Regions from separate parts of the Homo sapiens genome. Here all the other regions are linked to region 5. The links are contacts of gene promoters, found by promoter capture Hi-C in blood cells and fetal thymus (Javierre and others, 2016). All regions are on one chromosome and are shown on one strand. The core of a region is centred on a gene start or on the middle of the fragment in contact, and the rest is flanking DNA. Distances in the headings are between cores, read along the strand shown.

Evidence for each region. The method cuts DNA at HindIII sites, captures the fragments that hold promoters and counts their contacts. A CHiCAGO score of 5 or more calls a contact.
Region 1: a fragment that was not itself captured here is called in contact with the fragment with the promoter of FOXO1 in region 5 in 4 of 17 cell types (activated CD4 T cells, fetal thymus, total CD4 T cells and 1 more); the score reaches 7.2 in activated CD4 T cells.
Region 2: a fragment that was not itself captured here is called in contact with the fragment with the promoter of FOXO1 in region 5 in 1 of 17 cell types (activated CD4 T cells); the score reaches 5.7 in activated CD4 T cells.
Region 3: a contact is called between a fragment that was not itself captured here and the fragment with the promoter of FOXO1 in region 5, in 1 of 17 cell types (endothelial precursors). The highest score is 7.3, in endothelial precursors.
Region 4: a fragment that was not itself captured here is called in contact with the fragment with the promoter of FOXO1 in region 5 in 4 of 17 cell types (total CD4 T cells, naive B cells, non-activated CD4 T cells and 1 more); the score reaches 5.8 in total CD4 T cells.
Region 6: a fragment that was not itself captured here is called in contact with the fragment with the promoter of FOXO1 in region 5 in 9 of 17 cell types (activated CD4 T cells, M2 macrophages, non-activated CD4 T cells and 6 more); the score reaches 10.7 in activated CD4 T cells.
Region 7: a fragment that was not itself captured here is called in contact with the fragment with the promoter of FOXO1 in region 5 in 1 of 17 cell types (endothelial precursors); the score reaches 5.1 in endothelial precursors.

Annotation. Positions count from the first base shown.
Region 1 is chr13:40,010,296-40,014,507 of GRCh38, forward strand. No RefSeq gene overlaps it. Among named protein-coding and RNA genes, the nearest start is that of LINC00332, 170 kb to the right of the region's middle. The HindIII fragment of the contact is 5,126 bases long and covers 289-4,212 here.
Region 2 is chr13:39,974,778-39,978,636 of GRCh38, forward strand. No RefSeq gene overlaps it. Among named protein-coding and RNA genes, the nearest start is that of LINC00332, 210 kb to the right of the region's middle. The HindIII fragment of the contact is 1,811 bases long and covers 585-2,395 here.
Region 3 is chr13:39,890,782-39,894,863 of GRCh38, forward strand. No RefSeq gene overlaps it. Among named protein-coding and RNA genes, the nearest start is that of MIR4305, 230 kb to the left of the region's middle. RefSeq lists an enhancer at 2,091-2,385. The HindIII fragment of the contact is 813 bases long and covers 1,654-2,466 here.
Region 4 is chr13:39,933,401-39,937,188 of GRCh38, forward strand. No RefSeq gene overlaps it. Among named protein-coding and RNA genes, the nearest start is that of LINC00332, 250 kb to the right of the region's middle. The HindIII fragment of the contact is 4,030 bases long and covers 1-3,788 here.
Region 5 is chr13:40,664,349-40,668,309 of GRCh38, forward strand. FOXO1 (forkhead box O1) reads right to left here and starts at 2,293. Exons shown (of 3, transcript NM_002015.4): 1 at 1,235-2,293. The coding sequence starts at 1,864. RefSeq lists silencers at 32-111, 412-921, 1,442-1,491, 1,582-1,721, 1,952-2,481 and an enhancer at 3,132-3,181. The HindIII fragment of the contact is 11,472 bases long and covers 1-3,961 here.
Region 6 is chr13:39,953,932-39,958,230 of GRCh38, forward strand. No RefSeq gene overlaps it. Among named protein-coding and RNA genes, the nearest start is that of LINC00332, 230 kb to the right of the region's middle. RefSeq lists an enhancer at 2,118-2,167. The HindIII fragment of the contact is 8,626 bases long and covers 1-4,299 here.
Region 7 is chr13:39,809,285-39,813,351 of GRCh38, forward strand. No RefSeq gene overlaps it. Among named protein-coding and RNA genes, the nearest start is that of MIR4305, 150 kb to the left of the region's middle. The HindIII fragment of the contact is 2,036 bases long and covers 1,643-3,678 here.

The DNA of each region.
Region 1 (4,212 bases), core at 1,602-4,101, 650 kb before region 5:
TGTGTGGGTGAAGATTGACTGCAAGGGGGCACTAGGACATGTTTGAAGGTGATGGAAATATTATAGGTCATGATTGTAGTGGTGGTTACATGGCTGTATACATTTGTGGAAGTCATCAAATTATACTCTTCAACATGGTGAATTTTATTGTCTATAAGTAACATTTCAGTAAGACATCCGTGCTTTAGAGAGCTTACTTACACATTTTTGTAAACATTGTTTTAAACTTTAAGTTGCATTTGATATCTATGTCACTAAAAACTTACGTTTAGTGTTTTATAATGGAAAAGCTTAATTAAAGGGAAACATGCTATTCTCCTTGTTTTAATAAAATGTGACTATGGGAAATCTAGTTGTTTCTGATGACACAAATGAAAAGTCCATAAACTCTTTATTGATTGCTCTGTCCAGTGCTTCTTTCTAAAACAGGATGACCAAAGGAATTGTTGAGGTCAGTTTTTTCCATAGGCTTCCTACTTAAGTGATGTAAACATAACCCTGGATACAACTGATTAGACAAGAGATCGGTATAATCAGTTATTGGCAGAAATCTGCAGGTTAGCCCCAAAGAAAACCTGACAGCCATGAGGTAGGATTTTACGTAAGAGTTCTTCCCAAATTAACTGCTTTATATTTAAAAGCAAAACAAAATCAAACCTCTTCTTTGAAGAATACAAAATACATAGAGAGAGCAAAAGTCTATAGGAAGATAGCTGAATGCCTCAATTTTTCCTCTTTCTAAACATGTACCTTTTCAGCTTTTTATCAGGTTAGTTTAATCAACTTTAAAATATTATTTTAAGTATTTTTTCAAACTTTTTAATCAAAATAATTAACACTATATATTAGAACAATATAAACTGCTATATATAAAACTATATATAAATTACTATATAAATATGAAACTATATATAAACTATAAAATAAGGCAATATATAAAGACTATATAAATTTATTTATATATACATAAATGCATATGCATATATAATATGTAAATTTATGTGTATATCTGTATTTATATACATATATAAATTTACATGTTATACGATTTACATATTACACATGTTTATATACAAGTATACTTATATATGTATATATACATATATAAATTATGTATGCTGTGTAAGTATATATATAGATATATACTTATCAGCATATTATGCTTATATGGCATATTATGTATGCCGTATAAGTATATATAGATTGATATATACTTATACGGCATACATAATTTATATATGCATACATATAAGTATATATATACTTATGCAGCAAACATATATACAAATGTGTGTGTGTGTATATATATATATATATATATATATATATATATATATATGACTACGTATGAGAGGAAGCAGTATAAAAGCAAAATTGAGAAAGAAGCAGAAAAAAGGGAATCAAAGCTGGACCATGTTCTCTGAGACTGCAGGAACCCAGGCCCTGACTTCCCTCACTCAAGCAAGTCCCTCACCCAGGCTTCTCCCCCTCATAAGTACCTGGCTTTAGCTTGGCTCTGAGAAGAGACCAGAGCAGTGGAGTGGAGGCTGAAGCCAGGGGAAAGAAGGCAGCAGGCATGCCCCACACAGCAGGGGATCTGAGTAAGCCCATGCAGTAGGGTGAGAAGAAGAGTGAGCCTAGCTGGATCAGAGTTGTAGAACAGCGTCAGTGCAGAAACAGGGGTCGAGAGCAATGTGGACACCAGAATCACTGCTTTATCGTAGCTAGCACCCCTCTTTTGGTGGGGCCTGAGTGGGCAGCTGCTGCTGAGCCTATTTTCTGTGCTTTTCCAATTCCATATATCTACCTGTCATTGTTGGCTCCCTTTCTTCGTGATTCCAGTTCCTTCCATCTGTGTTTGTTCTTCCAGTTTTACAAATGAAGTGCTTTTCTCTTTTTCCTCTCAATTCAGGCTTCTCTGGTCTTTGGTTGACTTCTTACTCCTAATACAGCAAGTTTAAAGTCTTAACCTGTATTTTCTGAGGAATTTCTCAATGAATGACCTGTTGTGAGACACAGGTTTCATATTGTCAAGTCAAATGACAAATGGCCCAGTGACTGTAACCTGCACTGCTGCCACCTCCTGAACACAACTAGAAGCACCTACAGTCTATAAAGACACTGGAGAGTTTATTATGTACTGTTTCGTGGCATCTCCTGAACCCTGCTTGGAGGTAAAGACCACTTCTTGCACATCATTATATCTGAACAGTGCTGTAACTTTTACCCAGGTATGAAACATGGAATTGTTATTTTTATTTAATTTTCTTGAAGTAACAAGGACTTGGATTTCTCTGGTAAATCAGTTTGTCTAGAAACTAATGGGTATCTCTAGGTTCCCCTGGAAAATATCACTACATTTAAGCTATTTTTCATGTTTCTTTTCTTTTTCTTTTCTTTTTTTTTGGGATGGAGTTTCGTTGTGTTGCCCAGGCTGGAGTGCAGTGTGCTATCTTGACTCACTGCAACCTCTGCCTCCTGGGTTCTAGCAATTCCCCTGCCTCAGCTTCCAAGTAGTTGAGATTACAGGCATGCACCACCATGCCTGGATAATTTTTGTATTTTTAGTGGAGACGGGGTTTCTCCATGTTGGCCAGGCTGGTCTTGAACTCCTGACCTCAGGTGATCCATCCACCTTGGCCTCCCAAAGTGCTGAGATTACAGGCATGAGCCACCACACCTGGTCTCATGTTTATTTTCAACATTTCAACAAATTCCTACCCAATTGTACGAAACTCCAGAATCTCTCCAAGTACTTCAAAAGCGTTGCAGAATTTAACTAATAAGTTGATTTTAATTTATTGATTGTTAGAACGAAATGAGATCTTAAAGATAAGTGTTGTTCAACACTTTAATATTACAAATGAGAATACTGTGGCTCAGAGAGTTTCACTGACTTTGCCTATAACCCTACGGTCAGTTAACGGCAGATGTGAAAGCTAAACTGAGATGTACTGAGGTCTATTCCTGTCTGTCTGTCATTACAGGAGGGCTCCTCTCTATTTAATTTTTACAATAAGATAAATTCATAGACATTTTAAGAGGAAGGAATACTATTGACAAACCAATGACAGCTTAGTATACTGGTTCTCAGGTAGGAAGCTCCTTATATCACCAGTGGGGCTTTATAAAAAAGATCAATCTTTGAGCTTCCTATTATCTATAGGATAAGAACACCCAAGGAAGGGTCAAGAAATCTCTACTTTAAAAATTCCCTATCATTGATTCTGATGTAGCTCCTAGTTAAGCATCACTGAAAGTAGAAAATACTAGCGACTTTGATTTCACTGGCCCTGGAATGGAATCTGAGATCTTGTACCTATTTTGTGATCTGAGGGAGTTGCTTAACTTCTTGGACCTTCAAATTCCTCATCCATAAAAAAGAAAGCAATAGTAACTCTACAGAGATAGCAACATGAAACACTTAGCACCGTGCCTGGAACAGAGCACAGGTTCAGTAAGTATTTGTTTGCATATTGCATCATTGAAAAGACTGGAAACTCTCACATTCTTCTCTAAAAGAGACCACATTTGCCCCAGTAGTTGAAGGTAAGGGACTGCATGTTCACAGAGACCTGAATTTTGCCATTTATTTTTTATTAATATTTGGGACAATACTCAAATTCTGTATGTCTGAGTGTTTTCTCAAAGATAGCAATAGCATAGTGCTTGGCATATAGTCAGTATGCAATGAAGTAATATTATTATTAGAATCACTTTATTCTGCTATCTCATGAACAGGTTTTAGCAATTGATATCTTCTCCATTTATTGTGACTAAATGAAACTAGCTACTCAGGTGTTAAATAAGATGTCATAAAATTGACATAAAGTGATCATTAGAAATTGATTTATAACATGCCTAAATTTTTTCATTGAGGTATAATTTACACACAATGAAATGCACAGATCTTAACTGTACAAATCAATGAGTTCTGAAAAGTGCATACACCCATTTAATCCATATCCCTACCAAGATACGAAATATTTCCATCACTCCAGAAAGATTTTATGTGACCCTTCTGAGTCAATCCTACCTCCCCTTGCTAAACCCTTCTGCTTCTATCATCATGGATTAGTCTGCCTTTTCTGGTACTTCATATAAATGGAATCATTGAATGTGTACTCTTTCATAGCTGATTTCTTTCATTCAACGTAATGTTTTTGGAATTCATCCATATTGCTGCATCTTTGGTAGTTTATGCCTTAACAC
Region 2 (3,859 bases), core at 240-2,739, 690 kb before region 5:
ATTCAAGGTGTTAGTTATATGAGTGTGTGCTGTGTTATCTTTTCTAGATTTTTAAAGATTAGGGCATTTGATTTGAAATCCTACAGTTAGCTCATTTGTTAATGAATGAATGAATGAATGAATGAATGAATACACACAGCAGGGAGTCATCAAGCACCTGTGATATATTGGATCTGTGTTAAGAAATGTGACATGAGCAAAGTCCTCTACCCTTGTGCCATGGCTTACTCTAGTGTGAGCTTCCTGAATTAGGTCTCCTCACAAAGACAGGTGATTTTTTATTGATATTGGATGGCAGATCCATTATGGAGTGTTAAAAAATGGCTTATCAATTTCCATCCTGATAGACAGCAAAATCCTCTCCCATTTATCTCCTCTTCTTCCATGTTATCTCTCTTCCCAAGGTCATCGCAATGTCAATTCATGTCTTCTAAATTAGCAAGTCCGCATAAAGTGTTTCAGTGGACACCTTCAATGATGTAAGTATTCAAAAGAGTTAAGTATTCTGTCAAATAAAAAATCTTAGGTGATCCTAAGGCCAAGTTCTAAGACTGGATATCTTTTGTGCCAAAAGATGCTAGGTAAGCTTGTTTGTCCCTGATTCAATTTCTAAATCTGAATAATATCCCTGACATGCTTTTGAACAAATTATATAAATTCATTTTTTACTCTTGAGATAGCTTATGGTAGTTTCTTAAATAGGCACTAACCTCTTTGAAGCAAATACTACAAGAGGATGCTGCCAATCTCACCTGGCCCAAACAGTGAGACTGAACTTGACACTGTTATAACCTTAAGCGTCATCAGTACATGTTCACTGTACCTCTGAATGGATAAGAACAGGTGATCATCTGCTGACTTTAGATAACTAATCAATGATATGAGATAAGAGGACTCATTCAGGCAGCCAATGGGCAAATACTGCCTTAATGTTATTAAATAGGTCCTTACCAGTGTATATATTATATAATTTGAAGCAGTCCTCCAAAGCATCTTTAGCTAATTCCTAACAGAGTTGTATTCTAGCTACTCAAGGGCTCTCTTTTGAAACCACATAATTCCTTTGTATTCAGGCTCATGCATTCATGGTTTTCATGATGCAGACAAAGAAAGCAATAACCAATAAGATGTAAAGGACTGAAAGCAAAGGGTCTCTTGAGTTTTGTGCTATTATTTTGAATTAATTAACAAGAATGGTATTGTGCAGGCATTGTCACCATTATCATTATGGATGAGCTCATATATTAATCATTTAGCTCCCCTGGTTTTGATTTTTTATATCATACCAAAGCACATCTTATTTATAAATATATGAACTGATGTGGTAATAAGTGACAGAAACAAAAGATTCTCTTCATAATCTATGCTGTAACCTCAAGGGACAATATGACAGAAAAAAATACCGAACTACAGAAAGAAGGAGACCTCATTCTATGATTTCTTCCCTGTGAAGAATATATAATATGGAGGCTTCTATAGATTAAATCAGGGAGTTTAACCCCCCGTTCTAATGCGTTTAGTAGCTGAGCAGGAAAAGAGAATGAGCAAACGTACTCATGATCTACTCTCCGGCAAAATGGGTTTATAAAATTCCAACTTCATAAAGATGCACCTGGACGCTCCAGGGCACAGGACATCTTCTCTGAAACATCATTTAGTGCCTCTTTATTACAGCCCTTTCTCAGTCTCCTCTTTCCTTGTTATTTAGCATGAGCAAAAAGTAGCTTCTGGGGAGACTCCTCCTTTTCTGAAGACTAGTTCTTACCTGCACAGGCAATATTTCGTGTCGGGAGACTGCTCCTCTGAGCAACCCTACTCCCACACAATCGCATGTAATCCGCCTCACAGCAGGCATGAGCCTGCAAGTGACAAGACACAAGTGGGGAGAATTGGCAACTACATAAAAAAAGATACCAAATAGTCTCCGCCTACCAGTCAGATGCTACTCCATCAGAATGGAAAACAATGGGGAGAACGGAGATCATTCAGTTGAGCATGATCCATTTTGAGCAATCTCTAATCAATTCAGGGACACCTCCTCTTCACCCCTCCTCTCCCCTCCATCATCTGTCTGCATTTGTGTAGCAGTGAGCACAGCATTAAGAATACTTTGACAAGGGTGTCATTTTAGTCTGAACGCCTCAAAATGACTGGGGAGGAAAAAAGTTATCTTTTGCCTTCAACTCCAATAAAAATGATCTGAGAAGGAGAAAGAAAATTTCCCCAAGAGATCTACTTTTCGTATGGAGTGTTATAGGATTGCCCTGATGATGGAGATGATTTCAGGGTGAGAGAGAGGGTGTGACATTTGTCATCATTCATTAGGAAAGGATAAGTCAGAGAAGCCCAATAGAACCTAATTTCTCCCCACTTAAGGGACTTTAAGGGGGAAAAAAGCTTAGAATTTATTGTCAGAAACTGGATCCAGGCTCTGCCTTTTGTTATCTATGTGAACTTACTCTTGCCTTTAATATCTTGGAGTCTGTTTTCTTATTTGCAAACTAGAAATAATTCCAATATTAGCACAATGTGAATATTAAGTGAGGTCATGTATGTGCAAGTGCTCACTGCAGTACATGAGTTACATGGGTGGACAGTGATATTTGTATTGAATAAAAACACAGAGTTTAAATTCTGCAGTAGTGGGAGCTTACCCTCAGGCTACTGTTAGGGTGAGAGATGATCTTAAACAGGGACAATGTGCACTGAGCCCTATGCCCCGTAGATGCCCTAAATGTGAGTGCACATTTTGCAAGCCATGTGGACCTTGAATGTGAGTGAAAGGAGGGAAGATTGGTCACCAGGGCCTCCACTCACGCTCTCTCTTTGTGTGCTTTTCTCTTTGAGACCTCCCCCTCCATACCAGTGACCTCATACCAGCATTTGCTTGCTGATGACACAGGCCATCCTCAATCATAAATACTTTGGAGACCCTATGTCAATGTGTTTGTTCTCCCAAGATTTCTTGCTGCGTTAATTCAGTCGATATGTCTTTTATATCACATCTATAGATTCTCATTCTCAACCTCTCTCTCCTCCTGTTGCAATATATTTGTTAAAGAAATCGGGCTGCTTGTTCTGTAGAGCTTCCTACATTCTTCCTGTATTCTGGATTTTGCTGCTTCCATCCCCATGTCTTTAATGCTTTCTACTATCTCGTATATTTCTTGCAAGGTGGAAATTGGATCCAGAGTCTTATTCAGGTTCAAGGTTATATTAAGAATACCTTATAGACAATGTTGCGTACTTCCCTTTCCATCTTCAGGAGGCATATGTTGTGTGGTTTTCTTTGTGGTATTGAGATCGATCAGTGGATCTGAGCATGGTCAGCCTGATTCATTCATCATAAAGTTCATGGAATGGTTTTAGCTATGGGTATTTCATTAGGGTTTGCAAAATATCGATATTCTAATTCTATCATCTCTTTTCTATTTACTGGCTGGAATTCTTTTGTAATTAAAAACTTTCACTCAACAAGCATTTGGTCACTCTTAGGTAAAACACGGGCAGGAAAAACTATCCATGTTCGCATTTTTCACTTTACAGGTTTTCAGAATGAGTTGGTTCCCTAGCATTCTTCAAAGGTGGCCACCAATGTTGTACTGTTTGCTTTTAGTGTAATTATGAATGCATGAATTTTAATATATTTAATATGTTTTAATTCATTATAGTTACTCTTGTTTTTGACATTCAAATTATTTCATCTTTGGCAAGTGTAACGGCCTACAAGTTGGTTACTAAATTCTCTTAACATAACCCCAGTAACCTTGAATAACTTCCTTGCTTTCCACAAAAACAAAATGTTTTAGAGTCTAGACTCATATTGGACCTTTTCTGAGTATAATCTGAAATCAATTAT
Region 3 (4,082 bases), core at 810-3,309, 770 kb before region 5:
ATGATGCAATGTAGGGCCAACAGTGAGGTTATATGAATCTCCTAGCCACTCTCTCCAAACCTGCAGACCGAATAAATATTGCTCCAAGTTGCCTGGAACTGGGAACTTGCCTAGGGACAGAACTGCAGCCTGGTCTTAGAGCAAATAATGCTCAAAGCCAGAAGTCACTTTACAGGTCGCAGAGGCCAACTTCCTTGATGTACATTCTAAGGCTCGAATGTTCAATGTTTAGTACTCTGGAGTGGGAGAGCAAGGACAAGAACGGAAACAGAATTCTGACACCCAGCTATCCCACTGTCTTTCATGGAAGCCGTAGTTCCTGCAAAAGATATCTTAAGATGTATCAATATTAAATTTATAGAAGTTGATAACTGTATTCTGGTAATGTATAAAAATGCCCCTATTCTTAGGAAATAAACCCTGAAATATTTAAGGGTAAAAGACCATGACATATGTAACTTACTTCAAATGGCTCAGAAAAGAAATTTGATGATAAATCATAGATAGATAGATAGATAGATAGATAGATAGATAGATAGATAGATGGAATAGCAAATGATAAAGCAGATGGGTAAAATGTCAGGTAAATCTGGGTAGAGGATTTCAATTGTGTTTATACATTTTATTTTTAAGCAAGCTGTCTGTAAGTTTCAAATTATTTCCAAATAAACAGTTTTTAAAATTTGCCACACAGACAAAAGCTATTTTAGGATGATAAAAGAGGCAAACTCCTCAGGCCTCTGCCTTGAGTTGGCCGTGTTTAGGATGGAAAGACTTCTAGCACCCTACTAGAGGCTGTAGAATTTGGAAAGCAAAGACTTCTCAGCTCATCTGGTGAGATGGATTTACTGGGTAATTTAAAAAAATTATATGGGTGTGTTCATTTCTCTTGTTCATTCATCTTAGTGGCCAGGTATACTTCCTGCAGTTTAAAGTTGAATGAGTCAGCTATAATTTGGGGTAAAATTATCGGTTTATCACAGTGTGCAAAGGTGCCCAATGAATACTGAGTTTAAGGAAACAGACATGTATCTTTAGGACAGTGACAGAACAAATTGAACATTTGCAAGTACTCAACATTTTGTGAAACATTTTCATACGTATTTTGTCATTTGATTTTACCCCAAGATTTGAAGTGCAGGAATTCATCCCATTGTGCAGTTGAGGAAACTGAGGCTCAGAAAGGCTAGTTCTTAATTACAGAGCTGTAAGTAGTGGGGCTGAGACTTGAGTCTTACTATTAGAAATTCTGTGCTCTTGTCACTAGGCTATGCTACCCTGTCTGCAGCTAGAGCAGTACACCCTCCAGCAGACATTTACTATGTGCATTCTAAGTGTCAGATATTGTACATGGCTCTGAAATCTGTGTTCCTGCTGCTCCTATGTGCTTAGTAAAATGGTGCTAATAAACTGCAAAACACTTTACTTTTTGGCCATTTAAAAAATTTCATTAGAGAAATACATACAAATGCCTGTTTTGTTTTGCTATTTTTGCCTTCATTTTCGTGTGCATGTAGAGACCCATTTTAGCTTTTATCATAAATGTGGTACCAATATACCTCACAAAGATAATCATAACACCTCCTGGGAGGTACTTGGGAGTTTACCTAATCCAAATTTTTCATCTTTAGAGATAAGAAAATTAACACCAAAAGCTTCAAGAAAATTGTCTAAAGGCACACAGCTAGTTAGACGCTGAGCCAGGACTGGAAATCAAATGTCTGATTACAGGTTTAGTTTATTCCTCCTGGAAAAGAAATAGTTTTTAGCAAAGTGTAGTTGGTTTTATATTAATACTTTTTTTTCCTTGACATCTTTTAAAAAGGGATAGGCTAAAAAGGGATGCTTTTATGTTGAATATACGTGTGTGTGTGTGTTTGTCTGTGTGTCTGTGCGTATGTGTGTGTATTCCTGATGTAAACATACAAGAAGATTAACAATTAAGCATATTCATCCAGAAGAAGAGGGAAGAACTCAGATCAGCTCTGTTCTGTGTTATATTTGTCTCTCCTAATCAAAACCATATGAGAAGCTAGAAAAGAACCCAGAGCCCAGTATGACTGCCAAAGATGAAGAAGAGACAACAGAGAAAGAAAAATGAGGGAAGAGTGAAGCAGAGACCCCATATTATTTCCAACATTTTAGCACACGCTCGCACTTCCATTCTTTATCAGATAAGAATGTTTTGCACACATTGGGCCAATTTACGCTGCACAGGAAAGCCTGTAGCTGTGCTCTCGGCCCACCACTTCCTGTGGGAGTCAGCAAAACAGGCTCAGCCCTTCCATTCCTTTGACCAAAATGCTTCCAAGTCCTAGCTAGGAAGGGCCCCATTGCTTATCTGGCCATTTGATGGAAGGAGTCCACAGTCAACTCTTGGCAGTCATTAGGAAAATAGTGTCCATTTCTCAGGTATCTTTTCCCACTCTGTGTGTGTGTGCGTGTGTGTGTGTGTGTGAATAAGAAAGCTTAACCTTTTTTGGGCTCACTGCACTCCAGTGCCTCACTATTCATGCAAGTTAATTCTTTACAGTTGTAATGATCTCTTCCCTTGTCCCACGACAATGTAGGTCTTCAGGTGCAGGGAAAGGTCTTCTACCCACCGGAACCAACTTTCACCCCACCTCTTCACTGCTACCAGAGTCCCTCTTCAGAGGGGCTCTACTTCGCATTCTGGGATGCAGAGACTCACAGTGTTTCTTTCCAATACATCATCCTAGGAGAGGAAAAAATCATTGGGAGGCTGCCCATTGAGATCCACTCTTTGGAGTCTCATTCCGAAACCAGCTTCTCCTGAGGCCAAGTGGCAAAGACAGATAAATAATATGGTGTCATTTAATTTACTCTAAAATAGTATTTAAAAAGGTTTAGTTTATGATCATCTCCAGATGTTTTCGCAGGAGTCCTTACTTCTCCTGCATCCCTCTCACACTGGTCATCCCTATTCTACTGGTTCTATATCTCATAGTTTGTTTCCTAGGTGCCACCGTCACCAAACAACTGCTAAGGATTTCTGTCACCCGTCTTCCTCTTGGTGTCTCTGCGGGTCTGAGATGGGAATGGGGAGAAGGAGCAGCTGGCTCCCCTGATTTAAAATCCCTGTCCCTGGAGCTGCCATTCTGCTGGGGCTTTTCTTGAAGGATTTTCTCTGAGGGCTCTTGTCCCTCACCCCAACCCAAATAGACTCTTGTGAAAAACAGAGCTCTAGTTGGAAGGCTCTTTTGGCAGACTGAGTGCCCTCAGAGTCTTTTGGTCTCCTTGCAATAAGGGAGCTCTCCCCAGAGCTGATTCTAGGCCAATTCTAAGAGTACAGGAAGAAAAATGGAAATTTTTCATTCAGGGATTGAGCCCCAGGAGGTGAAAGAGTGCTCCTGTCATCTGCATAGTTAGTATAGGAGAAGAAAAGCACCATTTTCTCACCAAAGCTAGGTTTGTGGCTGAGGCCTCTATAACAAAAGGCTGATAACGAGAGAAAAGCATACAAATGTATTTAGTATAAGTTTTATGTGGCACGAAAGCCTTCATAAGGAAATAGAGACACAAAGAAATAGTAAACTTGTGTATTTTTATGCTAAGTTTGATGAAGAGTAGACAGTTGTGGAAGAATATGCTTGGATCTAATAACTGGGGGGAACTTAGCAAGACTCGTTTGTTTAGATTCTTCTCTGTGACCCTGTATCTTCAGAGATAAGGCTATGCCTTTTCTCTGGGTATAGGGAGGGCACCTCATGAATGAGGGTCTCATGCCCTGCATCCGGGGAAGGTCAGAAAATGCTTTTTAGGTTTTATGACCTGCTGCAGGTGAGAAAGGTGGGGGGAAGATCAGAGTGACCTTCCTGCTTCTGCAGTTTTCTAAAATTCTTTCAGCTTAAAATATTCTGGGGTAGTGTGTCCTGAACCCCATCAACAGTGGGAAACACAGGACCAAAAAGACTCAGATCTGAAATTCAACCCACTGTTCTTTCCAGCATCCCAGTTCTGGCAGCACCGAGCGGCAGGGAACACAAATGGGAGAGCTGGGCTGGGCGAGCTTCCTGTTCGGAGGACTTGGTCCTTTGGTTTTTGATTATATTTCTTACTGA
Region 4 (3,788 bases), core at 727-3,226, 730 kb before region 5:
GAGGGAGCAAACAAAAATCACTGCACAGCCAGAACCTGAGTCAACTGCCTGCAAGCTCCGGGACTGTATATATGAAGTACTCAATCTTGTTATGCAAAGGAACCCCAAGCACCGGTCCAAAACTTAGGTCTGCTTGTGCTGTTAGATGTGGAGGAGTGGTGTATACACGAAAGAGGAGACAGAGATTGAGAGAGAAATGGAAAGTGTAGTTTATAATGAGGACTGTGGATCCAATCCTTCAAAACCTGGCTCTGTGTCTTACTGGCCGTGCAACCTTGGGCAAGTCACACAACCTTGCCAAGCCCTGGTTTTCTCATCCGTTAAATTGATATTAAAATAGCACCTACTTCCATGAATTATTGTGATAATTAAAGTAACTACAACAGTGCCTGCAACATACCAAACTAAAATGCAATGATGGAATTAAATCTTTACTGGAAATGGTAAAAAAAAAAATTAGTAACATAGAAAATATAATCGATAACAGAGAATAAACTTCAAAAATTCTCCTAAAGTTTCTAGGAAAATTTAAAAAGATAAGAAATAATATAAAAATAAAGTACATGTGGCCAGGCACTGTGGCTCACACCTGTAATCCCAGCACTTTGGGAGGCTGAGGCGGGTGGATCACCCGAGGTCAGGTGTTCGAGACCAGCCTGGCCAACATGGTGAAACCCTGTCTCTACTAAAAATACAAAAATTAACTGAGTGTGGTGGTGCAAGCCTGTAATCCCAGCTACTTGGGAGGCTGAGACAGGAGAATTGCTTGAACCCAGGAGGCAGCGGTTTCAATGAGCCGAGATCACACCACTGCACTCCAGCCTGGGCAACAAGAGCAAAACTCTGTCTCAAAATATAAAATAAAATAAAAGTACATAAAAGTAAAGGCATATAATGGCATTCTAACATTTCATTATATTTTTGAGGGAAACAATAAACAATTCTAACGATCAAAAGTATAATAGAATTTTTTTCTAATTTGAAGTAAGATGTGGGTCTTCAAATTGGATGGACTTAATCTGTTACTGGGTATAATTAATGCAAAGTGATTCACAATAGACTTATCCTGGAGACATTTTCAGATTACATTACAAAAATAAAGCATCATCCCAGGAAGAAAAACAAAATCCCACCAGTCACACTTGCACAATTTATCTACTAATAATTAATAATTAAGCACACCAAATTTCTTTTTTACAACAGAGAAAAAACATAATGTCTTCAACGTTTAACAGAATAAAACTTGACACGTCATAATTTTATACACAGCTCAGTTGCAAGAACCTTGCATATGAAAGAATCATGTGTTCTTCCTGAAAAAATTGATAATGTGATTGAACTCATGAGAGATGAATCGATGAATCATTGCAAAGAATTCAAGAACAACAAAACTGTGATCTAAAAGATCTGAGGATAAACATTAAACTTTGCATAAATTTAACTCTAAATAATAGTTGGTAAATATAAAACTTATGCAAATGTCAAACTATTATTTAGAAAGAAGCTAAATAATGTTAAACAATTAATAATGATGATAATGCTCTAAAATGTTGGATTATTCTCACTTTGTTATTGTCAGTTGTTTCCCAACAAAATTTATTTGCCTCTTCTTTCCTATTAATAGAGGCTTCATTTTGTGCAGGTATTCATGTGCCCAGCCCTAGACAATAAATCAATCATGATTAGTCTAAGCCAATCATTATAATCCTTGTCTCTCTCTCCAAGCCTCCCTTGGAGTTTGAGATGACTATGGATCTGGTTTTCGCTAATAATACCTGAGTTAAAGTATGCCAAAGAGGTTTCTGGGGGAGCATTTGCTTTCCTGATGAAAGGGGACACCTTGGCTGGCACAGATCCTCTTTCCTATCTCTGCCTTAAACACTAACATAGGCTGCAGCAGCCATCTTTTGGCCATGACATGAATGTGTGAAAGTGAAAGATATGCTAAGGATGGAGAAATAGAAAGAAAGGAGGCCTGGGTTTTGGATGACATCACCAGATAGGCCCAGTTCTCAGACCATCATAAAGCCATGCAAGAAATTAGTAATTTATGTTCAAAACCAAACAAAACCCTCTGACTACTTGGACATTAAAATTACTCTTCTAACTTATAAACTCAAATAGATAATCAAACTACAGTTATAGGCTGTTTGAAAATGAAAACATTACATATCAAAACCTATAGGATGAGATCAAAACAGCGCTAAAGGACACAATCATAACCTCAAATGTTTCCATCATTAAATGAGAATTTTTTTAAAAACGCAAGGATTTTACTTACTTATTCGGATTTTTTTTTAATTACAGAAAAAAAGAATTTTAGAGCTAAAAGTAAAAAACAAATGTGAGAAATGTAAGATATTACAATTGATAAATCTAAGAGTTGAATATTTGTGATTAAAACCCCAACAAATAAAAAGAACTAATGAATTAGACAAAACTCTGGCAATTATAATAAAAAAAGACAAAGACCACAAATTAACAAAATTTATGTCATAACAAATAACAATGGGGTAATAATAGGTAGTCAGGTGTAGTAACAAGGAAGTGGGTATAATCACAAACCCAAAGGAGATCATAGTCTTATAAGAAAATTATACCATTTGACCCAGCCATCCCATTACTGGGTATATACCCAAAGGATTATAAATCATGCTGCTAAAAAGACACATGCACACGTATGTTTATTGTGGCACTATTCACAATAGCAAAGACTTGGAACCAAACCAAATGTCCAACAACAATAGACTGGATTAAGAAAATGTGGCACATATACACCATGGAATACTATGCAGCCATAAAAAATGATGAGTTCATGTCCTTTGCAGGGACATGGATGAAGCGGGAAACCATCATTCTCAGCAAACTATTGCAAGGACAAAAAACCGAACACTGCACGTTCTCACTCATAGGTGGGAATTGAACAATGAGAACACATGGACACAGGAAGGGGAACATCACACACCGGGGCTTGTTGTGGGGTAGGGGGAGTGGGGAGGGATAGCATTAGGAGATATACCTAATGCTAAATGATGAGTTAATGGGTGCAGCACACCAACATGGCACAGGTATACATATGTAACAAACCTGCACGTTGTGCACATGTACCCTAGAACTTGAAGTATAATAATAATAATAATAAAAAGAAAATTACACACTCAGGGCAGGGGAAATAAATTAATGCTATATAACAGGAAAGAATATGATATATGAATCAAAATTTCAGAAAATGTACCGGAAACTTGTTTCTACTAATAAAGTTTGATAAAATTGTTACAGAAGTGAACTAAACTTATTTAAAAGGAAGTTTATTGTTGCATTATATGTAATAGGAAAACAATAGAAATTTCATAAATGTTCAGTAGTAAGAGACTATTAAATAAGTTATAGTACATTCATTCAGTCAATACCATGTAACCATTGAAAAGTTGTAGAATATTTCACATCTTGATTGGAAAATCTTTGTAATACTTCAGAATGTGAAAAAGGCAAGTTTCAAAACATCAGTCCAGACTCTTTGGGTGAATTAAAGGACTTAATTAATCTATATAAAGTTCTTGATGGAGAAGACATTGAATGTGTGTTAGTTTTCCCTCCCACACAGGATTACTTTGAAAGCTGGTTGTATGTAAAGTGGCTAGACCAAGCCTGGCTTGTGGTTGTTACCCATTAAATGTTAGAGCCTACCCCTCTGCTTCTTGACTGTGTTCAGGAGAGCTAAGGTGCTACTTCAGCACACACTGGCATGTTGTGCCACTATGCAGAATTGCAGTGAGTTGAAATGCAGT
Region 5 (3,961 bases), core at 1,043-3,542:
TCAGCTTGGGGAGGCCGCGCCACGACTGGACCCCGCCCCCGGGAAGCCTCCCCGGAGCCGAGGGCCCCCGGGCCTTCTCCTCGGAGTCGGGAAGTGCCTGCCCCCACGCTAAGTCTCTCCTGGCCACGCTCTGAAAGGCAAAAATGGCAAAAATCCTCCTTCAAGGCACCGCTCCCTCGACGCGCACCGCCACTCCGACTCCCTCAAAACATTGGTCGCAAAGCCCCCCCGCCTGGTCCTCCATGCTCAAGAATAGGGTGGCAAGGCAGGAAAAGACTCACACATCCCAGCCCCCGGCCCCTCAGGGCAGCCTCTGTGTTTCTAACTAAAAGCCTCCTACCAGGGGCAAGACCAAGTTCGGGCGCTTCCCCGCATGGAGAAACGCTGGCCCCACGGCGCCCGGCCCCGACGCGCTGGCCCTTTAAAGGCGCGGGCTTCCTGCGCCCGGGGCCCCTCCCACGCCACCGCCACCGCCACCGCCACCGCCCGCGCCCGCCCCCGCCGAGGGTCACACTTGAACTTTAGCTCGCCCCGCGCGGCCAGGCGCCGGCGCTCCGCAGGCGGTGGCCGCCCCTTCGCACGTGTCGGAGGCACCACCTCGGGCTCGGGACGCCGGGCCCCCGGCACTCGAGGCCACTCCGGAGAAAACCAAAACAAAGCAAAATGCGCACCGCCTCCAGAAACTGCCCGGCAGGCCCTGCACCGTCCCCGGCCGGTCGCGCCCTGCCTGTCCCCTCCACCTGCAGCCCGGTCCCGGGGCAGCGAGGCTCCGGGGCCCCTCGCCGCGCCCTCCCCCGCCGCGCCCGGCGGAAACAGCTCCGCGGCGCGGCCGGAGAGAACCCGCCCTCCCCCCGCGGAGGTCCGGGAGGGAAGGGGCAGCCGAAGCAGTCGGCGCGGGCCGGGGGTTGCCGCTCCCAGCGAACCCCTTTCTCCTTTCACTGGCAAACTTTTCGGCCTCGCTCTGACGTCCACTTCTTGGCGCACTTTCTTTACTTAGTTCCCCAACGAGCCCCTTACCGCGTCCCACGCGAACTCCTGACTGGCGCGCACGCACACCTACTGCCGTCCCCGACCGGACCCGGGCGAGGCCACCGCGACCACCGCTTCTCGCCCGCCCTCCTGGGAACGCGCTGCCCTCCTGCTCCGCACCTTCAGGCCGAGCAAACCTGCACAGCTGCGCCCTCGCCTGACCCACCGCGCCCCCAAGGTCCGGCCGCGCGCCGAGTCCACTCACCTTCCAGCCCGCCGAGCTGTTGCTGTCACCCTTATCCTTGAAGTAGGGCACGCTCTTGACCATCCACTCGTAGATCTGCGACAGCGTGAGCCGCTTCTCCGCCGAGCTCTCGATGGCCTTGGTGATGAGGTCGGCGTAGGACAGGTTGCCCCACGCGTTGCGGCGGGACGAGCTGCTCTTGCGCGGCTGCCCCGCGAGCGGCCCAGCGGCGGCGGGGGGCACCGGCGGGTGCTGCGACAGCGGCCCGGGCGGCGGGGGCTGCGGTGGCGCTGGGTGCAGGCAGCCCGCCTCCGGGCCCTGGAAGTCCCCGCACAGCCCCCCGGTGGCGGCCGCGGCGGCCGCCGCCGCCACCGCCGCCGCCACGGAGCCGGGCGCCTGCGGGAAGTCCTCGCTCTCCTCCAGCAAGCTCAGGTTGCTCATGAAGTCGGCGCTGACAGCGGCAGCCGAGGCCGAGGGCAGGCCCGCCGCGGCGTCGGGGTTGGCAGCCGCGCTGCCCGACGGCGCCGGGCTGGAGGTGGCCGAGTTGGACTGGCTAAACTCCGGCCTGGGCAGCGGCCAGGTGCACGAGCGCGGCCGGGGCAGCGGCTCGAAGTCCGGGTCGATCTCCACCACCTGAGGCGCCTCGGCCATGGTGACCCCCGCCCCTCCCCCAGCCGCAGGAGAGCCAAGAGGGGGAGAACGCAGCACTGGGGGCGGACGGGGAGGGGGCGCGAAGGGACGGTCCGAGATTTGGGGGAACGAAGCCGGTGCGGCGAGCGGACGGAAACTGGGAGGAAGGCGCGGCGGAGTGGAAGCGCGAGCCCAGAACTTAACTTCGCGGGGCCATCCACATCGAGGCTCCTCGGGGTCCGCCGCACGGACTGGACGGCCGGCCAGAGCCGCCGGGCCGGGGCAGAGCCTGCGCCGCGCTCCAGCTGACAGGGCCGCGGACGGAAGGACGGACGGACGCCGCGGGCCGCTTGCTCTCCCCAGCGGCGCGCCCGCTGCGCTGCTGCCTGTTGAATGTGGCGGCTGCGGCAGCGGCTGCTGCGACTACCAGGCCGCCCGACTTACGGGATCTGCCGCCGCCCCCCGCCCGCGGCGGCGCGCGCGCCGGCCCGCCCCTGACCGACAGCCCGCGCGGCCAATGGGCATGCGGCACCGCCGCCCGGGCAGCCAGTGGGCGCCGGGCTGGGTGGGGCCCGGTTTTCCACGGGGAGGCGGCGGTGGGCTGGTGGGGGGTAGTGGGGTGTTTTTCTCTTTCACACACTCACCTCCTTTTTTTTTTTTTGGATCTCTATTATTTTCTGGTAATTCTCGAGTGTTTCTGTGATTCTCTCGCCTTCTCAGTGTTTTGATTGCTAGGAAGCAAACCAGCGTGGAGGCGCCGGCGACACTTTGTTTACTACGGAGCAGCAGAGCCGAGTACTCGGGAAGCCCGGGTGGGAGGAGGCGCTCGCTGCTCCCTGACCTCCGCTGCGGGCCGAGCCCGGCGGGCTGGCAGGGCAGGGGGCCGAGGGCCGGGGGCGCGGGGTGGGCGGGCGGAGGCGGCCGCGAGGAATTCTACTCAATCGCTCCCTCCTGGCTCCACCCACGATGTCTTTGCTGAACGACGTGGGGAATCGGTGGGTTTTGTTTTGGTTTAATGTTTTCTTTCGCTGCGATCTGTCAAGTCCTCCGGCCCCCTCGCGAGCGGCACACGCCCCCCACCCCCGGCGCCGCGGCTCCTGCAGTCGAGTCCGCGCCGAGGGACCCTTCTCCGTGCCCACCGGTCCGCACCCCCGGGCTCAGCCTGTGCCATTCGGTCTAGCCAGAGGCGCGTCACCCAGCCGGCAGCCCCCAGCCGGATTCACTGTATTCTTGACCTTTTTTAAAATGCTAGAAATGAGGAACAGGGGCTCCGGCGCGGGGAGGAGATTATCTGGCCTCCCTGAACACACGAATCCAAAGGCACCCGCGACCGCATGCCCTCCGTGGGAACCTCTTCCCCTGGGCGGGAATCTCCCGCTCCGTCCACTAAGTCCAGGGCCGGCAGCGAAGGGCTCAGGAGCGCAGTTAGAGAGAACCAGGTCATTTTATTACTTATCCCTAATTAAATTTAGCTGTTTGTTACTTCTTTTTTATTTGCAACGGAAGTGATCGGGTGTTAAGTAAAAACGCAAGGGGGGCGGGAGATAGGACCAAAGCCTTGGGGCGCAGCCTGCCCCACCCCCAAATTCCTTGAGGCTACTTGCTGTGTGTGTCAGTCAACCCCCCACCCACACCCCACCTTTCCTCATCTGGGCTGCAGGTCCAGGACATCCTGTCAAGGATCAGTGGGGCCAAAGGTGGGAAGATAATGGCCCTTGTGTCTCAAGCAGAAGAAACAGTTTTCCAGTTTTGTTTTGTTATGCTTTTGCTTTTTTAGGAAGAATATGGAAGGCATTTCCTTTTAGAAAGATGGGACCACTTAGGATGGAAGATGGACAGTAGGGTTTTAAATATCTTGTCCAAAAGGACAGCTTCCAACTCTTGTTTTTTAATCCCTTTCTTTCTTACAAGTAATTCTGCAATGGAAAAAGTGGCATCTAGAGAAAATTAGTCAGTTGGACAAGAGGTTGTTGAAAAAATAAAAGAGAAAAGAGGGGAAAAAAGGAAAAATTAGGCCTCTTACAAAAGTTAAAAAGATTGAGAGAGATTATCTTTCTTCTTTTATATTCTCACTATCGTCTCTCTAGTCCGGGCTCCTGTTTCTTCATAATCTATTTA
Region 6 (4,299 bases), core at 818-3,317, 710 kb before region 5:
TGGAGTACCCGAGAGGATTCCTCCTGGACTCCTTTTGCAGGGATTTTGTGATCATTACCCTCCTCAGCCACATTGACACGGGATGAGGGGTCACTAAAGTTAATTATTTCTTTCCCTTGCCTTTCTGTCATTGCAGATTTTATTACCTTAAAATCTGAGATACCAAGATCTGCTCCTCCACCCATCATCCCAAATCAGGCATCTGGACCTTCCAGTGTCATCGTTAAGATGGCCTCACACACAGGGACCAGAATTCCTCTTCTCAGATTAGGGCTGCTCAGATTTGGAATCCTGTTGCTTTTCTTCTATTTCCTCGAAGTCAGGGTCAGCTTGGGAAAAGCTGTCAAACAAAGTACTAAATGTGGGTGTGTCCATCCTCCTTCTAAAACTTCCTACCTAAACTATGAGAGGAGGACACGTTTGGATTTTACCATGCCTTAGTATTTTCAGCATCCTTTGGAAGAGTTTCATACTGTTACGCCTTGTCATCCATGTCATGCCTAAATTACCATAAGCATTAATAAAAATAATCCTTAATAGAGTTGAAAAGAATGAAGCAGAAATGTGTCTTCTGAATGGCAAGCACTGTGCTAATGAAACAGGCATTTTCTTCAGCCACAGGAGCTTAGGAGAGGCAAATTAAGCATTGTGCCCTGCTCTCCAGCTGACTTGCAAAATATTCTTTCCAACCCCAGCCCTTCTAATCTGGGAGGAAGAGGAATCCCGATAATATCTCACAATCCCTCATCTTCCCAGGAGTGCCTCCCAGTTGTCAATATAGGCAGCTGCCTCATTGGGGACCCTCGTGCACTCATATATTGATGGCAAATGCTTCTTTCTTGTGTGGTGGTTCGTGGCAAGACCAATCTCATTACTGAAGCCTCCTGGTAGAGTAAGATTTCTCCCTTGTTGTGTTGTGAATCAGGTCGATTTTTATAACCTAGACTGAAAGCTCAGTGAGGCTAGATACCATATCTACCTTGTTTTCTGATGCCATTTCAATGTCACATACCTACTAGGCACTCAGTATTTTTGAATACCTGGAATTCACTCTAGATGCAGCCTGCACAGGTCCCAGGAAATTCATTTGCTTCTTTCTCCCAGGCTGCTTCAAATCCACACTCCTCCAGTTAGCTTCTCTCAGAAGATTCATTCCCCAACACCAAAAAAGAGGATTAAATAATATGTATTCTTTCGCTCACTTTTGTGGCATGCCATCCACACAAAAACTCCTGTAAAGTCACCACTGTCATTCCAGAATACTTCCATTAAATAATGGTTGAGTTTGCACTATTTTCATTTATTCCTTTTTTTTTTTTTTTTTTTTTTGAGACAGAATGTCCCTCTCTCACCAGGCTGGAGTGCAGTGGTGTGATCTCGGCTCACCGCAATCTCCGCCTTCCAGGTTCAAGTGATTCTCATGCCTCAGCCTCCCCAGTGGCTGGGATTTCAGGCACCCGCCACCATGCCTGGCTGATTTTTGTATTTTTAGTAGAGATGGGGTTTTGCTACATTGGCCACTGGTCTTGAACTCCTGACCTCAAGTGATCCGCCCTCCTCAGCCTCTCAAAGTGCTGGGATTACAGATGTGAGCCACCGGACCCGGCCCACTCTTTTCATTTCTTAACCAAGGTATTTCAATATCTGTCCTTGCCTGTATTACATGGGTCGCAGCTTCAACATGAAACTAAACTGTGATTGAAGTAACCATTGAGATACAGATTGGATTTCAGTCTTTCAAAAAAAAAAAAAACCTGTCACTCTAGTAACAGATTTCCTGGTTCCCTGATCTTGTGTCCTGTGTGTCTTCAACAGCTGTGGGCATCTCTAAAGTAAGTCACAAGCTCAAACTGTGTCTGTGGTTTGAGGCTAATGGGTATGAATGGATTTGCACCATACCTAGTATGTAGCCTCATTTTCTACTCTCAGATCCTCTTAGATTCCCAATAAGTAACATCAAATACTGCCTCAAGTAGTTTGGCATAGATGGGGATGCCCTACATAGAGGAGGTCATTCTAGATTGAAAAGAAAATTTAAGAAGGCAAGAAGCTAGATAAGTTGTGATCAGGGTTGGCATTCACTGAAGGAGCTATTACAGGAGACAGTAAAATGTGATGCTGGACATCAGATTCTGTCTGCAGTAAGAGGATAGCAGAGCTAATAGGGACTCACTCCAGAAGACACAGAGAAGTACTCCAAGGGCATCAGACTTCTGACATCCAGTGTGAAAGTGGGGTCAGAAGGCAGAGGATGGAACCAGGTTTCAAGCAGAAGTCAGATCTATCACAGGAGACCCAGAGGGGATTTCCTGGGTGGTTTGCTTGGTGATTCAGTCAGCTTTAATTGCCTTTCCTCCTTGGGGCTACTTGAGTAGCTTGAAGGCTCTGCTGAATCTGATGAAGACACAACAGAAGCATCAGGGTGACCTTAAGCAGGGCCTGTCCTTGGAAAGTGCGCCAGGCAAGTAAACCTGCCGGCATGTGGGAAAAGATTCACACCAAGACATATGGCTGGAGGAGGCCTGGAGGGAAGAGGAATCATGGGGCGGATCTGGGACTAGACATGGGGGCCACTGGAGGACAACTGTAGACTTTACAATTAATGCAATACTTACTTATTAAATACCTACAGCCAGCAGAGACCTGGACAGAGGAAGGCTCTGACAGGGTGATTAAAGAGGCTGGACTAGGCAGTAGACTGTAGGAAGGAACAGGTGGAAGGTAGGGGCAGGAGCAGGTTTGGGGAGATATGAAGCCTAAATCTCCCCCAGACCCCAGTCAAACAGACACAGTTACAAACCAAGCAAGAGTCAGGGTCTGCACATCCCCTTTACTTCTCTACTTTGTTTAATTCATGTCCTTCCAAAGGTGGGGTAATACAAGAGTCTCCATGGTTTTCATCAAATCTTCCACACACTCACTTCATTCACTCACTTTTTTCTTCATTTGACACATATTTATTGACCACCTACTAACCTCTAGGCACTGTGTTAGGTACTAAGGATACATCGATACTTAAGACAGACACAGTCTCTACAATCGTGGAACATATTGTCTAGAGCACATGCCAACAAACACTTTTCTGTAAAGGGACAGATAGTAAATATTTCAGTGGCTCCGAGTAGTCAACTCTGCCACTGCAGTGTAAAAGAAGCCAGAGAGAGAAAGTAAATGAGTGGGCATGCTGTGTGCCAGTGAAACTTTATTTACAAAAACAGGTGTCGGCCCATATTTGGCCTGAGGGTCATAGTTTCCTGACCCCTGGTCTAGAAGGGAAGTCTCTAAGTATATAATTGTGAGCATGCTGACTGTTTTGAGAGGGGAAGAATGATAGGAGAACAGAGAGTAAGGGGCCCTAAATTGCTGAGAAGTTGAGACCTGAGGATGTGGTGTTTAAGCCGAAATATAAAGGTTCCATAATAATAATTAGGTTGCATGGGTACTTGGGAGTTGAAAGGGCAAAGAATATTCTAGGGAGAGGGACATACATGGAAAAATGCCCAGGCATAACAGAGAGCAGGGGAAACACTCAGCTCAGCTAGAAGGAGGAATGGAATATGGAAACGTGAGAGATGAGACTGCAGATGTGTGCAAGGGGCCAACCACAGAGGGCCTGGTAAGTCAGGTTAAGAAGTTTAGACTTTTCCTAACCTAAAATAATGGGAAGCTGTTAATGGGTTTTAAACACTGAAGTGGCATGCTCACATTTGTGTGTTTGAAAGCCCCCTCCAGTGTGGGATGGAGTACAGATCAAAGTTATCAAATCAGTAGTCCGCTAGAAAGCTGAAGCCAGTCCACAGAAAAGATGATGATGGTCTGAGGATTGTGGTGGCAGAAATGATAGGGAGAAGTGGTTGAGCTTTACAACTAGTTGGGAAGTAGTCCTGGAGCAGGCAGCAAGCTCAAAAGTCTCTATCTAGGTTGGAGTCTTCATTTTACCACTTTTTGCTTTGTGGAAGAGGAAGAAACTTTGATAGGAGAGGGATACAGTCAAGGAGGGCAGGAGGTAATTGTGGGAGGGCAGGTGTGGGAGCAGGGTGAAAAGGCAGTTTGCATTTAAGGGGAGCATCTCCTCCATCCCCTCACTTCCAGCACACAAGAATGTGTAGAGTAGACTTTCTGGATAGGTTGAATGGTCTCTGTGAAATAAAGGCTCTTGTTCGTGCATAGTTAAACTGGTGTTGATAAATGGATTCCTTCTATCTAATACTTCTGTACATTTTGATGACCTTCCTCTGAATGTGATAGGCAAGAGTATACCCGTTGGTTGCTCAAAAATACCAATTACCTGATTTGATA
Region 7 (4,067 bases), core at 1,411-3,910, 850 kb before region 5:
AAAAAAAAAAAAAAAAAAAAATTAGCCAGGTGTGGTGGCGCACGCCTGTAATCTCAGCTACTCAGGAGGCTGAGGCAGGAGAATTGCTTGAACCTGGGAGGCAGAGGTTGCAGTGAGCCAAAATCGCCCCACTGCACTCAGTCTGGGCGACAGAGCGAGACTCTGTCTCAAAAAATAAATAAATAAAATCCTACTTCTGCTTGGTTACAGATGGTTTGTTTGAAAAGAAATAAAACTAGCTGTTGTGGGTTTTTTTTCATGTAAATATGGAGTTTTTAGAAAACACTGATAAAGGAAATCTATAAATAACTTTTCAAAACTGGCCAATACTCAGCTTTCCTGAGTGAATAAACCTTTCCAGCAATGCAGCTAGCTGTGAGACCAATAGGTTAATATGAAGTTCACAGCACTTTATTTTTTTTCTAATTTATCCTTTGATAAATACAGAAAGGCTACATGGTAAGGCAGAGGAAGAATAGGAAATGACACAAAGTACTAGATAGCACATAAACAGAGTCAGAGGCATGGTGTCCACGCAGGCTGGATTTTCTCCAGGTGGATGCACTTCCAAACTCAGGGCCTTTCTCAGCAACAGGCGACTCCTCATTCTCAGCCTTTTCTCCCTTCCTTGCAGCCCCCTCAGCAGATTCACCTGTTTGTTGCTGCCTCCACCACTCTCTCTATCCCAGGATATTCACGCCCTCCTCCTTCTTCCTCTTCGAGCCTTAGTGGAAGGAGAGTGGACCCAATATGTCAGCTGCCCTGTTATTTGCTGTTCTTGAAGACGGGTCCTGTTAAAATGGGCTGAGCGCATAAAGGGCAGAGGCACGTGAAGAATCACAGCATGTGGTGGGGTGCCTTCCATGCAGTAAGCACAACACCAGGGCTGTTCACTGTCACACACAGTCTGAATGACTGTCCATTACTATCTGGGGCAATGCTCACATCCTTCTTACCACACCATATGCCTCTGGCCCTTCTGAATGACTATCCATTACGATCTGAGGCAATTCCATCTCTCAGTGACGTTAGAGAATTCTCCCCATGTCACCCCGATGCCCACGTCCTTCTTACCACACCATATGCCTCTGGCCCTTATGAATGACTGTCCATTTACTATCTGAGGCATTACTATCTCCCGATGACGTTAGGGAATTCTCCCCCTGTCACTTTAATGCCCACATTCTTCTTACCACACCATATCCCTCTGGCCCAAGTTACAGAGCCTAACAAAGTTCTAAGGTTAGCAGTTTCTGGCTCCCAACTGGAAGCCCTCTGAGTCCTCTATCACCTGCACTTTGATTTCCTGTCTTACACAGCACGCCTCTGCTGCCCCAAGGCTACCACTGAGGAAGGGAATGTATGTCTCTTGTTCCCAGAGAAGTTGCAGACAACATCCTCTAGGGAGCACCCATGGCCTCTCCAGTCCTGGCTGGTGCCAGGAGAAGAGTGGACAGCATTTTCCTTCCACCACACTTAGGTGTGTGTCTCCCGTGCTACTCCCACCTCCCACCTCCCCCCCCAACACCAAACCCCAGTAGCAGATGACTTTGGGGCTTGTCAAGTCATTGAGTAAGAGCACTCAAAATTGGATTGGACATGCCATTTTTGTTGAAATGGAAATGCTGATTTTGTGAAATGAAGCTTGACTGGCAAAGAACGTTTTCACAATAGCTATGAAGCCTCAGGAGGCATGTATTCATATCCTTCCAATAATCTTCAAGTGCTGGACATAACCTGGTAATGTTTGTAGGGCAGAACTCATTATGCCATCGTGAGGCGCCGCTCTAAACCAGTCTGAGTCCGATGAGTCTGGTGGACTGCCAGAGAAGCCTCCTGCCCACCACCCTGCAGTGAATTTGCTTGAGTGCAGTGAGTGAAAGTGGAAAGAATTATGTCACAACAATTCAGGGGTAGAGGGAAGTGCCTGTATCCTGACTTCTGTGTTCACACTTGGGAGAGAGGCAGTTCCCCATTTCAGCAATGACACCACAAGGCTGTGTGGTGGCCTCAGCCTTTGAGTACTGCAGAGAACGTGGCCCCAGTGTGCCAGCTGAACTCATCAGGACAGAGGCAGGAAAGATGATGTGTCAGTCAGCTGCAGCTGTTATAACAGAAATACCATAGACTGGGTAGCTTAAATGGCAGATTTTGTTTCTCACCGTTCTGGACTCTGGGAAGCCCAAGATCAAGGTGCCAGCCAATTTGGTTCCTGGTGAGGGCTCTCTTCTTTGGTATGTCCTCACAAGGCAGTGAGAAAGAGAGAGAGAGAATGAGAGAGAGAGAGAGAGGAAGCAAACTAGCAAGCTCTCTTATGTCTCTTATAAGGGCACTAATCCCATCATGAGGGCTCCACTCCCATAATGTAATGTATTCCCAAAGGTCCCACCTCCAAATATATACATTTGCATATAAAAATATCACATTGGGAATTAAGGTTTCAATATATGAATTTGGGGGGGCACAAAGGTTCAGTACGCAGCAGGTGGAGTGGCATTGGAGGGCTCCTGCAGGGCCTGGCCGAGGCAGTGATGAGTGGTACTGGTGACAGCAGTGGCCCTAGAGGCACAGTGGGAAACTGCACACCAGTGGGTACCAGAGGTGGAGGTGGAGAGCTTCATGCGGTTTTAGGGAACTGACGCCTGGACATAGATGGTCCTAATGGAGGCTCAGATGGGAGAGGAAATATAACTGCGGGGAGTCACACAGGGGAGCCAAAAGGAATGTCAGTGAGAATGAGAGAACCCCAGGGATTCCCATTTATAATTAAAGGAGATGGGGAGGTTCCTACAACCACACAGGGGTTAACATAAAGCAGCAAAATCAAGATGATATTAATATTAATATGACACCACTGTGAATCTCTGAAAAACATGGTTTATAGCTGTAAGAAAGAAATGTTGACCTAATTTATCTCCACCATCATTTAACTGGGAGAAATAAGAAATTATTCCTGTTACTTGTATGAGTCTGTGTTTGTGGCAGAAAGGGTCCAGGTGACCTCCTGGGGATCTGATTCCAATCTGAGTGAGTATTTGAGTTTGAGCCATTCAGACACGTGTGAAACTTATCCTTTTGGATTTCCTGATGCTTTCCCATTGGCAAACACTAGCTCAAGTCACCAAAAATATCATACAACAATTGCACATTTCCCATCCCCTTGCTGTTTGCTTTCTGTGCCTCCTAGGACTTTGCTGAGCAGCCACGCTGCACAACTGCCTGTTCCAGCCCCACATCTGGGCATCTTGTGGAACCTCTGTTTGTCGTAGGGGTCTCTCCTCTGCTGCTTTGTGGGGAGGCTCAGCTTATATCATGTGACTCTTGAACCCTGGGCTTTTCCAACAGATTCTTGTGACAATTTTTAGCTCCAATTGTCACCATTGCTTTAAACCTGCTCATCAAGGCCTGCAGCATCCTGGGTGATGCATCTCCTTTCTTAGGGTTTCTTTGTTGTTGTTGTTTGTGCTAACTTTTCACCCAGGCTCTAATATCTGTGTAGAACCACTTGAAAAAAAGAAAATTAAATTTTGTTTTCTCAAGAGACATGCCTGCCTCTCCTGGGGCTGCCAAAACACGCTGATTGTTCTTGGGTAAAACTCCTCCACTGCACAAAGTAAGTGGGACTCAAGCTGTAAATACACCCCATTCACCACCAGATCCCATTTTAACTTTGCAAAAAGCTTGCTTAATTCAGACAGGTACATTTATTTGTGTGCCCGGTCCCATAGTAGATTCAAAGTATCAGACATGTTCCCCAATGTCAGAGACTTTGCAATCTGGCTCATCTAAGAAAACATGGGGGTTAAAAAGAACTAACAACAGTGTTAGAAAAACCGATGCTCAATACTTTCTATCTCTTACTGACAAGTCTTTAACACCTTAAATGTAGTAGTCACTGCAAAAGTCTCTCCTTTTTTGTTCTTCTGTCTCTTGGCTTTCTTACCCTGAATCTAGATCTAACATTAACATGCCACTGCATAATCTAGAGCTTATGCACTGTATGACCTTTAGCAAGTTACTTAATTTTGTCATGTCAGTTTTTCATATGTAAGATGGAAGGAATGGAT